Linked DNA regions of Homo sapiens: region 2 is linked to region 1. Evidence: promoter capture Hi-C in human tissues and cell types (Jung and others, 2019). All regions are on one chromosome and are shown on one strand. Each heading gives the region's core, a stretch centred on a gene start or on the middle of the fragment in contact. The rest is flanking DNA. Distances are from core to core; before and after follow the strand shown.

What was found. Contacts are between HindIII fragments. The study calls those that stand out against the background at their distance.
Region 2: a fragment that was not itself captured here is called in contact with the fragment with the promoter of CYP2A6 in region 1 in 2 of the 25 tissues and cell types used here (liver and mesendoderm cells).

Annotation. Positions count from the first base shown.
Region 1 is chr19:40,845,831-40,852,658 of GRCh38, forward strand. CYP2A6 (cytochrome P450 family 2 subfamily A member 6) reads right to left here and starts at 4,617. Exons shown (of 9, transcript NM_000762.6): 1 at 4,417-4,617; 2 at 3,988-4,150; 3 at 2,784-2,933; 4 at 2,389-2,549; 5 at 1,045-1,221; 6 at 126-267. The coding sequence starts at 4,596. RefSeq lists enhancers at 2,476-2,975, 5,785-5,813 and promoters at 4,596-5,615, 4,596-4,732. The HindIII fragment of the contact is 10,166 bases long and covers 1-6,828 here.
Region 2 is chr19:40,945,412-40,952,142 of GRCh38, forward strand. It overlaps the pseudogene CYP2B7P. Among named protein-coding and RNA genes, the nearest start is that of CYP2B6, 43 kb to the right of the region's middle. The HindIII fragment of the contact is 3,398 bases long and covers 1-3,126 here.

The DNA.
Region 1 (6,828 bases), core at 3,367-5,866:
CCTGTCTCTGGACAGCAAGTCACGTCTCAGGGTCCCGGGATCTGGGACAGGTGGGGACATTGCACCAGTCGAAGGGGAATTTTGAGGGTCTGGGGCCCTCCACTTCCGTCCCCCTCCAGCCTTACCCTCCACCTCTGGGTGCTTCATGAGCAGCAAGAAGCCATAGCGCAGGGTGGTGCTGACGGTCTCGGTGCCCCCAATGAAGAGGTTCAACGTGGTCATCACCAGGTTTTTCAAGTAGAACTCCGTGTTGGGGTTCTTCTCCTCCTGCAGGGAGAGGGGGCTTTAGGCCAACCTCACTCCTCTTGCCCTCAGGGCCCTTCTAGGGCTTTTCCTTTGGATCTACCTCTCTTTGGTTCAGACCAAAGGTGGAAAGAGGGACCCTAGATCTACCAGACTCGCTCTAGGTTCCAGCCCTTGCCCTGGCTGCTGGCTTTGCCCAAAATGCTCTTCCTTCTCACCTTCTTTACCTTGCTGACCATCTGTCCTTCAATTATCAACTTAGCTGTCAGTTTTTTTTTGTTTTTTTTTTTCTTATACTGACTTGGTCTTGCTAAGTTGCACAGGCCGGACTCCAACTCCTGAGCTCAAGCAATCCTCCAGCCTCAGCCTCCTGAGTAGCTGGAACTGCACATGCGCATGACCATGCAGGCTCACTTACTTTTTAAACAATTAATTAATTTTTTTTGACACAGGGCCTCATTCTGTCACCCAGACTGGAGTGCAATGCCGTGATCTTGGCTCATTGCAACCTCTGCCCCCCTTCGCGCCACCATGCCCAACTAATTTTTGGATTTTTAGTAGAGACGGGGTTTGACCATGTTGGCCAGGCTGGTCTCGAACTCCTGACCTCAGGTGATCCACCTGCCTCGGCCTCCCAAAGTGCTGGGATTACAGGCTGTTAGCCACGGCACCCAGCCAATTGTGAGGATTATTATGATGAGGGTTAATTTGAATGGGCCTGTGTCATCTGCCTGCCCCACTCCCAGACTGATTTCCCTCTGCCTGGCTTTGCATCTCCCCGCAGTGGCTGCTGGGGTGTACCTCCTGCATGCGGATGAGAAAGGAGTCAATGAAGTCCCGTGGGGAATTGGGATCCAGCGTGCGCTGGTTGTGCTCCACCTTCTTGGCTATGAAGTCCTCCAGCCCTTGCAGCAACTGAAAGGCCTGTTGCTGTGGTCCTGGCAGGTGTTTCATCACCGAAGAGAACATCTCATAGAGCTGGGGTTGCAGAGAGAGGATGGGAAGGGAAGGACAGCTGTCACGGGGCAGGAGCTGATGGGAATGGGATTTGTTTCATAGCAAGGAAGGAACTGAGTTAAAGGCATCTGTCTCGTTGTTTAGGTATTTCAGTGGGGCCGGATAGGAACTTATATCTAAGTTTTCAGGAAGGTTAGGTACCAGGGCCACGGTCTAGTAATTTAGGTGAGAAGAACTGAGACATATATCCAGGTTTCAGGTATTTAAACGAGGCTGGATTGGAGCACACATCTAGGTGTTCAGATATTCAAGTGAAGTTGAGTTGGAAGACACCTGTCCAGGTGTTTAGCTCTTCAGGTGGGGCTGGTATGAGGTGAGTGTCACCTGTCTAGGTATTTAGGCATTCAAGTAGGCTTGGTTGGAGACAGCTGTCCAGATACTTACTGGGTCTGGATTGGGGGCTTTTGTTCAGGTGCTCAGGTATTAAAGTGGGGCTGGTGAAGATGTTGAAGTGGAGGGGATACCTGTTGAGGTGTTTACCTATCCAAGTGGGATGCACTGGGAGCACCTCTGTAAGGTGTGTGATTGGAAAGGGTTGGGGAACACTTATTTGTGTGTCAGGGAACAATCTGTCTAGATATTTATGTGTTTAAGGTGTTGGTTAGGGCAGCTGTCCATGTTTTCAGGTATTTAAGTGGGTGAAGTAGAGGGCGCTTGGCCAGATATTCCAGTGGGCTAATCTGGGACATTTGTGTAGATGTGAAATGATTATGATGGGCTGGATTTTGCAGCACCAGGTGTTCAGGTATGCAGGAGGCCGGTTGACGCAGTCACTTGTCCAGGTGTTAAAATATTCAGAAGAACTGGGTAGGGAGCATCTGTTAGAAATTACGGTAAGTTGGGGATGGGAACACGTGCCCAGGTGAGAGAGCTGAGCTGAGGGTATGCATCCTGCCAGCAGGCTCTGTTTTGGGGAGCATCTGTTGAGCTATCCAGGTGTCCTTGGAGACAGGGTATTGGACATCCATCCTGGGTTCTGGTGCAACTGTCCAGTTGTCCAATATCGGGGACTGATTTTGAGGGGACACTGTCTGGAGGGCGGTGGGAGTTTGGGGCACCTGTCTCCAGGTAGGGGAGCAGTTGGCAGGTTGTGGTAGGGGCGTCACGGGCCGGGCTGCAGCCAGTTACCTGCCCCGTGGAGGTTGACGTGAACTGGAAGATTCCTAGCATCATGCGCAACAGTGACAGGAACTCTTTGTCCTTATAGTCAAAGCGGTCCCCAAAGACAATGGAGCTGATGACATTGGAGACTGTGCGGCTCAGGAAGAAGGTGGGATCGATATTGGCGCCTGCGGGTATGGCGGGAGAAGGGGGTTGGGGAGAGAGTCAACTCAGAGGTCTGAGGAGAGTCAGAATTCCAGGAGGCAGGGCCTTGTTGAGCCAAATTCCCAGCGCCAGACTCCAGGGCTGGAAGTGCGGGCGCCTTTCCCCACCTAGTCCCCATCCCCAGGCAGAACGCGCGCGGGTTCCTCGTCCTGGGTGTTTTCCTTCTCCTGCCCCCGCACTCGGGGTCCCCTGCTCACCGCCAGTGCCCCGGAGGGCGTCGATGAGGAAGCCCGCCTCCTCCTGGATGCGCTCCTCGATGCCTCGCTTGCCCACCCCGAAGTCCCGCAGGGTGGCGATGGAGAAGCGCCGGAGCTGCTTGGCGCGCTCCCCGTTGCTGAATACCACGCCTGGGGAGGTGAACGCGGGAATGGAGACAGGCCAGGGGGCGGCAGGGGCAGGAGCGGAGCAGCTCCAAGGGGCTCCCCAAGGGTGGAGGAGAGAGGGAGTAGGGTGGGAGAGAGATGGATTCAGCGCCATTGCCCAGCAGAGCTGCAAACTCAGTCAGAGAAACACGATGTCGAGGTAGAGAGAGAGAGAGAGAGAGAGAGAGAGAGAGAGAGAAGAGAGAGAGGAGAGAGAGAGAGAGAGAGAGAGAAGAGAGAGAGGAGAGAGAGAGAGAAGAGAGAGAGGAGAGAGAGAGAGAGAGAGAGAGAGAGAGAGAGAGAGAGAGAGACCAGGTTTAAAGAATAAGACAATCAGAAAAGAAACAGAAAGGCCAGACAGAGAGATGCACATAGAAACAGAGGGATAAGGGGACACTCCATGGAGGAAGGGAAGGAAGTGGGGAGAGAAAGAGAGTGATGGAGGAAGAGGATGGAGGGAGGGGAAGTGAGATATGGGGAGATCTGGGAGGAGGAAATAAAAATGGTGAAAGATTCTTAAGCTGAGCTGGAGAAGAGAGAAAAATATTGAGATAGAAACAGAGAGGGTCTGGAAGGAAGAGAGACTGTTACCAGGAGATGGAGGCTGAAGATGTGGAAGTAGGAATACCCTGAAATCCTAAGACAGAGGAAGAAGTGAGAAAGGGATGCGGAGAGATGAGAAACACAGAGAAGCCCAGAAGCTAAGAGGGACAAAAAGACAAATGAAGACAGAGAACCAGGGCTGGAAAACAGAAACCCAGGATGTCCTTAGAGATGGAGAGAGAGGGGAAAGAGGAGACTCCAGTGAGAGAGAATAAGGAGGTGGGGCAGAGAGAGGCAGGGAGGAATCAGGACAGGGACGCTGGAGACAGGTGAGGGATACACATGGAGAGGCCACAATGAAGGGAGATGGGGAGGGAAGACCAGACTGGGGACTCTGCCTTAGCCTCCAGTTGGCAGGAGAGTCAGGGAGAAGGCTGGGAACACTGAGACCTTCGTGTCCACCTGGCCACCTTCCCCCTCTTGGGCACCCCCTCACCATAGCCTTTGAAGACCCAGTCGAAGGTGGCTTGCTCGCCTCGCCCGCTGAACTCCTCAGCCTGGTCCACCAGAGCCTCCCTGACGGCATCATGTCCACACAGCACCACGACCCGCCGGGGCCCCAAGTGAATGGTGAACACGGGGCCATAGCGCTCACTGATCTGATGGAGGTGGGTGGGAGTGGTTAGAGGGAGAAGCCTCCACTCTGAATGGGGCCCAGCACCGAGATGTCATGTGCTGGGATGCTTCGCACCCAGGTTCTCACAGTCAGGGAGCTGGACATCCCAAGATCCTGTCTTTCTGATGCTGAAACTCCAAAACTCCATTTCCTAAGACTCTGGTCCACACTGGTCAACCCCCTGCCACAAAGCCCCAGCCAACTAGGCAGCCCCCACCCCGTGCCACCCATCTCCCTGCCTTGGGACACCTTCATGAGGGAGTTGTACATCTGCTCTGTGTTCAGCTGCAGGTAGTTTCCAATGAAGGGCAATGGGGTGGGTCCCGGAGGCAGCTTCCCCTTGCTCTTCCTCTGCTGCCAAACAGACATCAAGACCATTACAGTCAGGCAGACCAGCAAGGCCACCAGAAGCATCCCTGAGGCCAGCATGGTGGTAGTGGGATGATAGATGGTGACGGCTGGGGTGGTTTGCCTTTATACTGCCTGAAAAAGAGGGATGGACTTTGGCTGATTACATAATTACCTCATTTCACCTCCCAACTACATGCCCCACCATGAATCCTGCCTAGCTTGGGACACAGCCAGCAAGGGAGGATAAGGGGACCCCAGGGCAGCTGAACAGAGAGGGGGCCTCCAGACTAAATCTGTGGTACTTCAGGAGGGGTGCCGCAGGGCTGTGGATTTAGGAGGGGGCAACAGATAAGCTGTAGAACTGAGGAGTTTGGAATATTTGCATAGGGGAGCACTTGGGCTTTGGATTTGGGGTCTGAGAGTGAGAATGCACCCCAAAGTTGTGGATCTGGGGGTTCCAGGGGAGAGGAATCCAAAGGTCTGGGTTTTATTAGGGTAAGACAAAGTGTGGCTGTGCATTTAGGGGTCTTCTGTTGTGGAGGATGCAGGGTTAAGGGTCTCAGGAAGGGGGATTCCAGGCATATGGACTTGAAAGTCTCGGGGCTAGGAAGACCCAGGGCTGTGGGTGTGGAGTTTCTGGGAGGAGGAGTGTGTAGCAAGCCCAGCGGGTTCTCCCAGAAAGCCCAGCAGCCCAGCACTGGGTCCAGGGGCTGACTTGATTTTGCTTTTGCCCAGAGCTGTCTCTTGATGCCCAGAATCCTCATTGGAACCTCAGAGTGAGGCCAGGATGGGTGCCATAGAACCTCCACTGCCCATCTCTGATTGGGAAGGGGAGGAAGACCAGAGCCATATTTCAGGGGAACTTTCCCCACACCTGGAGAAGAGTACCTGGAGTTAGCGGTTGGCAGAGGGATTGGCTAGGTCTGGAGAAATAGTAATAACAACCCCCAAATGGTGGAAAAATCTCAAGTGTCCCAAGGGTTGTCCGCTGGTTTCCAACCCAGATCCTCAGGGAAACCCACTAGATTGATTGTATCATCCCTATTAATATTATGATTGTTGTTTATGTTTCTCATTTTATATAAAGATCTACAGAGGACAGAAAACAGACAGTGGGCAGGGGACATGTGTGAGTGGCCCTGAACTCCCATCTCTCCTGCTCTGTGTACTTAGTTCCCCTTTCTGGATTTGGTTTTCCTGCCAGTGGAAAGGGAGTGTTTGGGAAGAGAAGATCACATTCGAGGGTGAGTTAAGTCTCCTTTAAGAATGATTCCTGCTTTGTCAGGGGCTACTACTATTAGCAGGCAGAGGGAACAGTGGCAGAAGAGATTGGGGTAAACTCCAGTATTAGGCACAGAGGCAGATCCTGGGGTGGGTGTGAGTGGAGAAGGGATGAGTAGCCCTCCTGTCCTTCCCTCAGGGAAATTCTTCCTTAGTAAACAGGACAGTTACCCTTTGGTGAGCATGGTCGTATACGGGAAGATTAAGTCTAGGTGTGTATGATCTGGTTGAATCTTTGTAACAATGAGGTTGGTTCATCATGATCATCCTCATTTTGAAGATGAGCAGATCTAGACTCCATAAATCCTCTTGAGTGAGGTCACACAGGGAGTAAGTGAGGGAGCTGGGATGTGAACTTTCTCCTCACCCCCCTTCATTGACTGGCCTAGATCACCCTGGGAGTCAAGTGCAGGCCAGCCTTAGCAGGAGGTGAGTGCTGGGACTGGCATCAGCAGTGGACACACTGATGACATTGGTGGGTTCTGATATCAGCATCAGGTATGGCCAGGGAGGGAAAGGCATCGTGTTGGCTTTGGGACTGCCCCCAGGTGTATGCGAGGATGGGAAACAAGTTGGCACTGAACTTGACACCAGGAGAATATTGAAGTCATGTTTGGTGCCAAGAGGGCTCTGTGTGTTGTCTCAGGTGTCATTGAGGGCATAAGAGTGTCCTGCTTCAGGAGGGCGTAAGGGTGGCACCATATAGGGTCTGAGGTTGGTCCCAGTGGGCTGTGACATGAGCATGAGGCAGGTGCTGATATTGGTCCTATGTGGGTCTGAGATGAGCCTCAGCCAGACCCTGAGAGGGGCCCCAGATGGCCACAGGACAGGCTGTGGTGGTTGGACCATTTAGGGTTGCACCTGTCCTCTGGGTCACCAACTTTGGACAAGTGGAGGTGGGTGAGGTTGGCACCCCCAGGACTGACATCTTGCTCAAACTGTTCTAGGATGCTGAGCTCTGAGACCTGTGTGGAGGGAACAAAGGTCAGAGAACAAGGCAGAGAGAGGAAAGTTGTTTGTTGATTTTGG
Region 2 (6,731 bases), core at 178-2,677, 96 kb after region 1:
ATAGTAGCTAATCTTGTGGTGGGTCATTAAGGAAAAGCTTACCAGAGGAACTGGCTTCCAAGCCGAGATGTTCATGGGTGGGCGTCAATCAATGATTGCAAAGTGTGTTCCAGGCAAAGGAAACAGCAAGGGCAAAGGCTAAAGGTGGAAATGTGATGGTACCATTGAGAATCTATAGGAAGTCCAGTGAGCCTTGGGTGTAGATTGCGGAAGGGAATAAGACAAAGGGCTCAGCTGGGCAGGACCTTGAAGGCTGTGGAAGGAGTTTGGATTTATGGTCTAGCACTGGGGAGGTGGAGAAGGTCTTGACGTGCTCTGACTTGTCCCAGTTCTCATCCTCCACTCTTTGGCTGGTTAAGAGAAAAACTTTAGGCAAATTAAACTTAGCAGAGTCTATTTGAGCAAAGAAACAATTCATGAATTGGGCAGCACACGGAACCAGGAAAGGTTCAGAGAGCTCCACCCAGCAATGTGATCAGGCACTATTTATCCATAGGGAAAGGAACTGAGGTACAGAAACAGCCTGATTGGTTACAGCTCTGTGTTTGCCTTATCTGAGCATGTCTGGGCAGCTTGTAGCCTGTGACTGGCTGAAGCTTGGCTGCCCTGATTGTCCAAGGTTACTTGTTACAAGAATATACTCTCAAGTTACATTGCAGTTTGTTTACATGTTGAGTTACGTTACAGTTTGTTATGCAGGGAGGCTGCTTTAGGCCAAATTTAATTTAATTTAACACGCACCATCCATGAAAGGCCCCAGAAACAAATCCCTAGTCTTGAGTTTCATCAGTGACTTCAGCAACCCAGGGTCCTGGCCCAGCCCCTGGTTTTGTGCAGTACAGTGACCTCCTTCCACATTTTATCTTCAATGACAGTTAGGAACACATGGGGTGATGGCTTGAGGGTCAATGTCTTCTCTCAATTTTGCTGTCTTGTTTTTTTTTTTTTTTCCTTTTTTGAGACACCGTCTCGTTCTATCACCCAGGCTGGAGTGCAGTGGCACAATCTCAGCTCACTGCAAGCTCTGCTTCCTGGGTTCATGCCATCCTCCTGCCTCAGCCTCCTGAGTAGCTGGGAGTATAGGCACCTGCCACCATGCCCGGCTAATTTTTTGTGTTTTTTAGTAGAGACAGGGTTTCACCGTGTTAGCCAGAATAGTCTTGATCTCCTGATCTCGCGATCCACCCGCCTCAGCCTCCCAAAGTGCTGGAATTACAGGCGTGAGCCACCATGCCTGAGACATTATCTTAAGGTTTCTTTTTTTTTTTTTCTTCAGACAGGGTCTTGCTCTGTTGCCCTGGCTGGAGTGCAGTGTCATGATCTCAGGTCACTGCAACCTCTGCCTCCCAGGTTCAAGCGATTCTCCTGCCTCAGCCTCCCAGGTACCTGGGACTACAGGTGTGTACCACCATGCCTGGCTAATTTTTTGTGTTTTTAGTAGAGATGGGGTTTCACCATGTTAGCCAGGATGGTCCTGATCTTCTGACCTGGTGATATTCCTTCCTCAGTCTCTCAAAGTGCTGGGATTACAAGCGTGAGCCATTGTGACAGGCCTGCTATTTTGTTTTAAGAGAGGCAGAGATGTAGGGAAATAAGGACAGAGACAGATAAGTAACAAAGATAATAAGATTGAGAAACATAGTTGGGGACAAAGAGGGAACACACTGAGAGATAGAGATGGGGAGACAGTGGCAGAAGGACAGACAGCAGGTGAACATCAGGCAGTATACGGAGAGGAAGAGAGAGAGACACACACAGAGAGAGCCACATAAGGAGAAGAGGAGGAGGAGGAATAAGAGGAGAGGGAGGAGGAAAAGGAAGGCGGAGGGGAGAAGGAAGGAGGGAAAGGAGAGAAACAGAATAAGAGATAGGAAAAAGAGAGAGTGACACAAGAAGAGAGGAAGAAAGAATGAAGGAGACAAATAAGGTATCTTTAGAGGGAGATGAAAAGAAAGAAGGAGAGAGAGAGAGATTGGGGAGCAATCAGATTCAAATAGATGGAGATAGGAGGTTAAGCAAGATGGAAGAAAGCCAAAAAAGGAGAGGAAAAGAAGAAAAACTGTGTCTGACAGGTATAGACAGAGAAAAAGACAGGAGTAGGGCTGCCAGGGGCAGAAAGAAAGGTATAACCCAAGCCAAAAGGGTACTGCAGCCAAAGAAATTCGAAAGGTGTCCAAACAGATGGCCCCAGAGATGGGGAGGGCGTGATGAGAGGGAGATAATAAGCATCAGGCTGTTGTGGAAAATGTTAGGTCACACAAAGAGCTACAGAAGAACAGGCCCAGAGACCTGCCTGTTTCTAAGCTCATGTTGCCCAACTTCTGGATGTGCCAAAGGGACATGGACCCATTTCCAGACACCTCCACATAGACACACTTGTCCAACAACTTGGCAGGCATAGGGAATGCCTGAAAACTCACACTTGACATGGCCTTTCCAAGGTTTGCAGATTATGAAACACTGAAGTGAAGGGAAAGGCTCCCTTTGTCTCTGCCTCAGCTTTTTCCAGCTCCCTTTGTTCTCATTTTTCTCCCAATCTGTGGTTTAGAACCTACTGGGGGTTCCTTGCACCTCTGAGAATCGGTGGAAGCCATAGACCCTCCCTGTCTCATATGCATCAGTCCCATTCACAATTTATATACAATTTGGGTTTTTTACCCCCTGAGCTCTTGAAGCCTGTGGATCTCAGGCTGAGACCAGAAAACAGCCTAGAGACACAGACACAGACACATGGCCAGAAACACATACCCCACAGATACCCCCAGAAACAAACACAAGGCGATAACCAAACCTTAAGGCTCCTTAGCAGAAGCCAAGTGCTGTTCTAAGAATTTTTACAATTGTCTCCTTTAACCTCAGAAGAGCCCTTTGAGAGAGGTGCCATTCTCCCCGTATGAGAAGTGAACACTAAGAATGTTGTCATAAATGTGCTCACACACATGTAGAGGTACACACACACACACACACAACCAGAAGTGGGTCATTATACACTGTGGGGATCACCAAACCCTTTGGAACTGTAACAGAAGCTACAAACTCTCTACTAGAAAAATGAACATGGCGCCGGGCGCGGTGGCCCACGCCTGTAATCCCAGCACTTTGGGAGGCCAAGGTGGGTGGATTACCTGAGGTCAGGAGTTCGAGACCAGCTTGGCCAACATAGTGAAACCCCATGTCTACTAAAAATACAAGAAATTAGCCAGGCGTGGGGGCAGGTGCCTGTAATCCCATCTACTTGGGAGGCTGAGGCATGAGAATCGTTTCAACACCCTGAGAGGCAGAGGTCGCAGTGAGCCGAGATGTCGCCGCTGTGCTCCAGCCTGGGTGACCGAGAGAGATTCCATCTCAAAAATAAATAAATAAATACATAAATAAATAAATAAATAAATAAAGAGATTGAGAGAGAGAGAGTGAGAGCGAGAGCGAGAGCGAGAGAGAGAGAAATGAACATGGCACATCCATTCAAAGATTTGCACCTGGTTTCAGAGCAGCTTCCTAAAAGTCCACCCTGAATTGTAGGTTAAAGGCCAGTCTTATGCAAATCTCTTGCAGTGGACATACATGTCTGGGCTTAGGGACATGGCAGAGCGAAGTGTATGCACCTGCCCTGTGCCCATGCTGGTGACCTTCTGTGCCCACAGGGAAGCGGATTTGTCTTGGTGAAGGCATTGCCCGTGCGGAATTGTTCCTCTTCTTCACCACCATCCTCCAGAACTTCTCCGTGGCCAGCCCCGTGGCTCCTGAAGACATCGATCTGACACCCCAGGAGTGTGGTGTGGGCAAAATACCCCCAACATACCAGATCTGCTTCCTGCCCCGCTGAAGGGGCTGAGGGAAGGGGGTCAAAGGATTCCAGGGTCATTCAGTGTCCCCACCTCTGTAGATAATGGCTCTGACTCCCTGCAACTTCCTGCCTCTGAGAGACCTGCTGCAAGCCAGCTTCCTTCCCTTCCATGGCACCAGTTGTCTGAGGTCGCAGTGCAAATGAGTGGAGGAGTGAGATTATTGAAAATTATAATATACAAAATTATATATATATATTTTGAGACAGAGTCTCACTCAGTTGCCCAGGCTGGAGTGCAGTGGCGTGATCTCGGCTCACTGCAACCTCCACCCCCGGGGTTCAAGAAATTCTCCTGCCTCAGCCTCCCTAGTAGCTGGGATTACAGGTGTGTGCTACCATGCCTGGCTAATTTTTGTATTTTTAGTAGAGATGGGGTTTCACCGTGTTGGCCAGGCTGATCTCAAACTCCTGAACTCAAGTGATTCACCCACCTTAGCCTCCCAAAGTGCTGGGATTACAGGTGTGAGTCACCATGCCCGGCCATGTATATATATAATTTTAAAAATTAAGATGAAATTCACATAAAATAAAATTAGCCATTTTAAAGTGTACAATTTAGTGGTGTGTGGTTCATTCACAAAGCTGTACAACCACCACCATCTAGTTCCAAACATTTTCTTTTTTTCTGAGACGGAGTCTCACTCTGTCACCCAGGTTCGAGTTCAGTGGTCTTGAACTCCTGATGTCAGGTGATTCTCCTAGTTCCAAATGTTTTCATTATCTCCCCCCAACAAAACCCATACCTATCAAGCTGTCACTCCCCATACCCCATTCTCTTTTTCATCTCAGCCCCTGTCAATCTGGTTTTTGTCCTTATGGACTTACCAATTCTGAATATTTCCTATAAACAGAATCACACAATATTTGATTTTTTTTTTAAAACTAAGCCTTGCTCTGTCTCCCAGGCTGGAGTGCTGTGGCGTGATTTTGGTTCACTGCAACCTCCGCCTTCCAAGTTCAAGAGATTCTCCTGCCTCAGCTTCCAAGTAGCTGGGATTACAGGCATGTGGTACCACGCCTGGCTAATTTTCTTGTATTTTTAGTAGGGACATGTTGGCCAGGCTGGTTGTGAGCTCCTGGCCTCAGGTGATCCACACGCCTCAGTGTCCCAGAGTGCTGATATTACAGGCGTAATATGTGATCTTTTGTGTCTGGTTCCTTTCACGTTGAACGCTATTTTTGAGGTTCGTGCCTGTTGTAGACCACAGTCACACACTGCTGTAGTCTTCCCCCATCCTCATTCCCAGCTGCCTCCTCCTACTGTTTCCCTCTATCAAAAAGCCTCCTTGGCGCAGGTTCCCTGAGCTGTGGGATTCTGCACTGGTGCTTTGGATTCCCTGATATGTTCCTTCAAATCCACTGAGAATTAAATAAACATCGCTAAAGCATGACCTCCCCACGTCAAGAGGTGATCTGTGCCATTTTGTGTGTGATTCTTTTATTGTCAGGTCCCTAGGGATTTTTCTGGAAGGAATGTTGGTGAGAACGCCTCCCTCACCTCAGTGACAACTCTGTGAAGGGCCAAACCATTGTCTTGCTCGTCACTGTACTCTCAATACAGCATGTGGCATATGACAGGTGTTCAAAATATTTGGTGAGGAATGAATGAATGAGTGGCTAAATCAGCCACCCACTACCCCCACAGCCCACAGAAAATGGAGCTAGGCTACTCCATCAGACTGTGTCTCCTCCATATCCCACTTTCTTCTTTGGCCCAGAATAAATTATCATCCCCAAAGGGCCCAGGATGCCCCCAGTTCTGCCTGCCAGTTACTCTCAATCCCCTGTGCTGCAATGCCACCTTTTGATAAAGCTTAGCGCTATTCTTGAAGTGGAACCACTCTAAATTCAGCCTCCAGGCTGGACACGGTGGCTTATGGCTATAATCCCAGTACTTTGGGAGGCCGAGTCAGGTGGATCACCTCAAGTCAGGGGGTCGAGACCAGCCTGCCCAACATACAGAAACCCTGTCTCAACTAAAAAAATAGAAAAATTAGCTGGGTGTGGTGGCACGCACCTGTAGTCCCAGCTACTTGGGAGGCTGAGACAGGAAAATCGCTTGAACGCAGGAGGCAGAGGTTGCAGTGAGCCAATATCCCACCACTGCACTCCAGCCTGGGTGACAAAGCGAGATTCCATCTCAAAAATAAATAAATAAATAAATAAATACAACCTCCACATATTCCACCAGCAGGACCACCACCCTTCCCTGAGGGAGTTGTTGCAAGTTTAATATCTTTATCGCAAGGATACATCAGCCAGCCTGTGGCCAATGGGAAGCTGGTTCTGGGACTCAGCCCTGAGATGCTAACCTTTTGGCCTCTGCAGCACCTGCCAGCTTTAGGCTCCTTGTAGCCTCTGAAGAGTTAGCAGGGACTCTGCCTGTGCAAATGCATGGCACACATTCCCTCACCAACCACAGAAATAAAACAACAAACAGAGAAACATGTCTTTTAAGAGTGACAGCAGAATCTGCCCGGCTTATTTCACCTAACATAACTTCCTGCAGTTCCATCCATGTTGCTGCAAATATCAGGATCTTTTTCTTTTTTAATGGCTGAATAGTACTCCCATCTGTATGGGCACCATATGAACACTTAGGTTGATTCCATATCTTGGCTGTTGTGAACAGAGCTGCGAAATACATGGGAGTGCAGACATCTCTTCGGTATACAGATTTCCTTTTATTGGAATACACTTAGCAGTGGGATTGCTGGATTGTATGGTAGCTCGATTTTTAATGTTTTTCTTTTTTGTTTGTTTATTTTTATTTTATTTTATTTTTTTTTTGAGATGGAGTCTTACTCTGTTACCCAGGCTGGAGTGCAGTGGTATGATCTTAGCTCACTGCAGCCTCTGCCTCCTGGGTTCAAGCCATTCTCTTGCC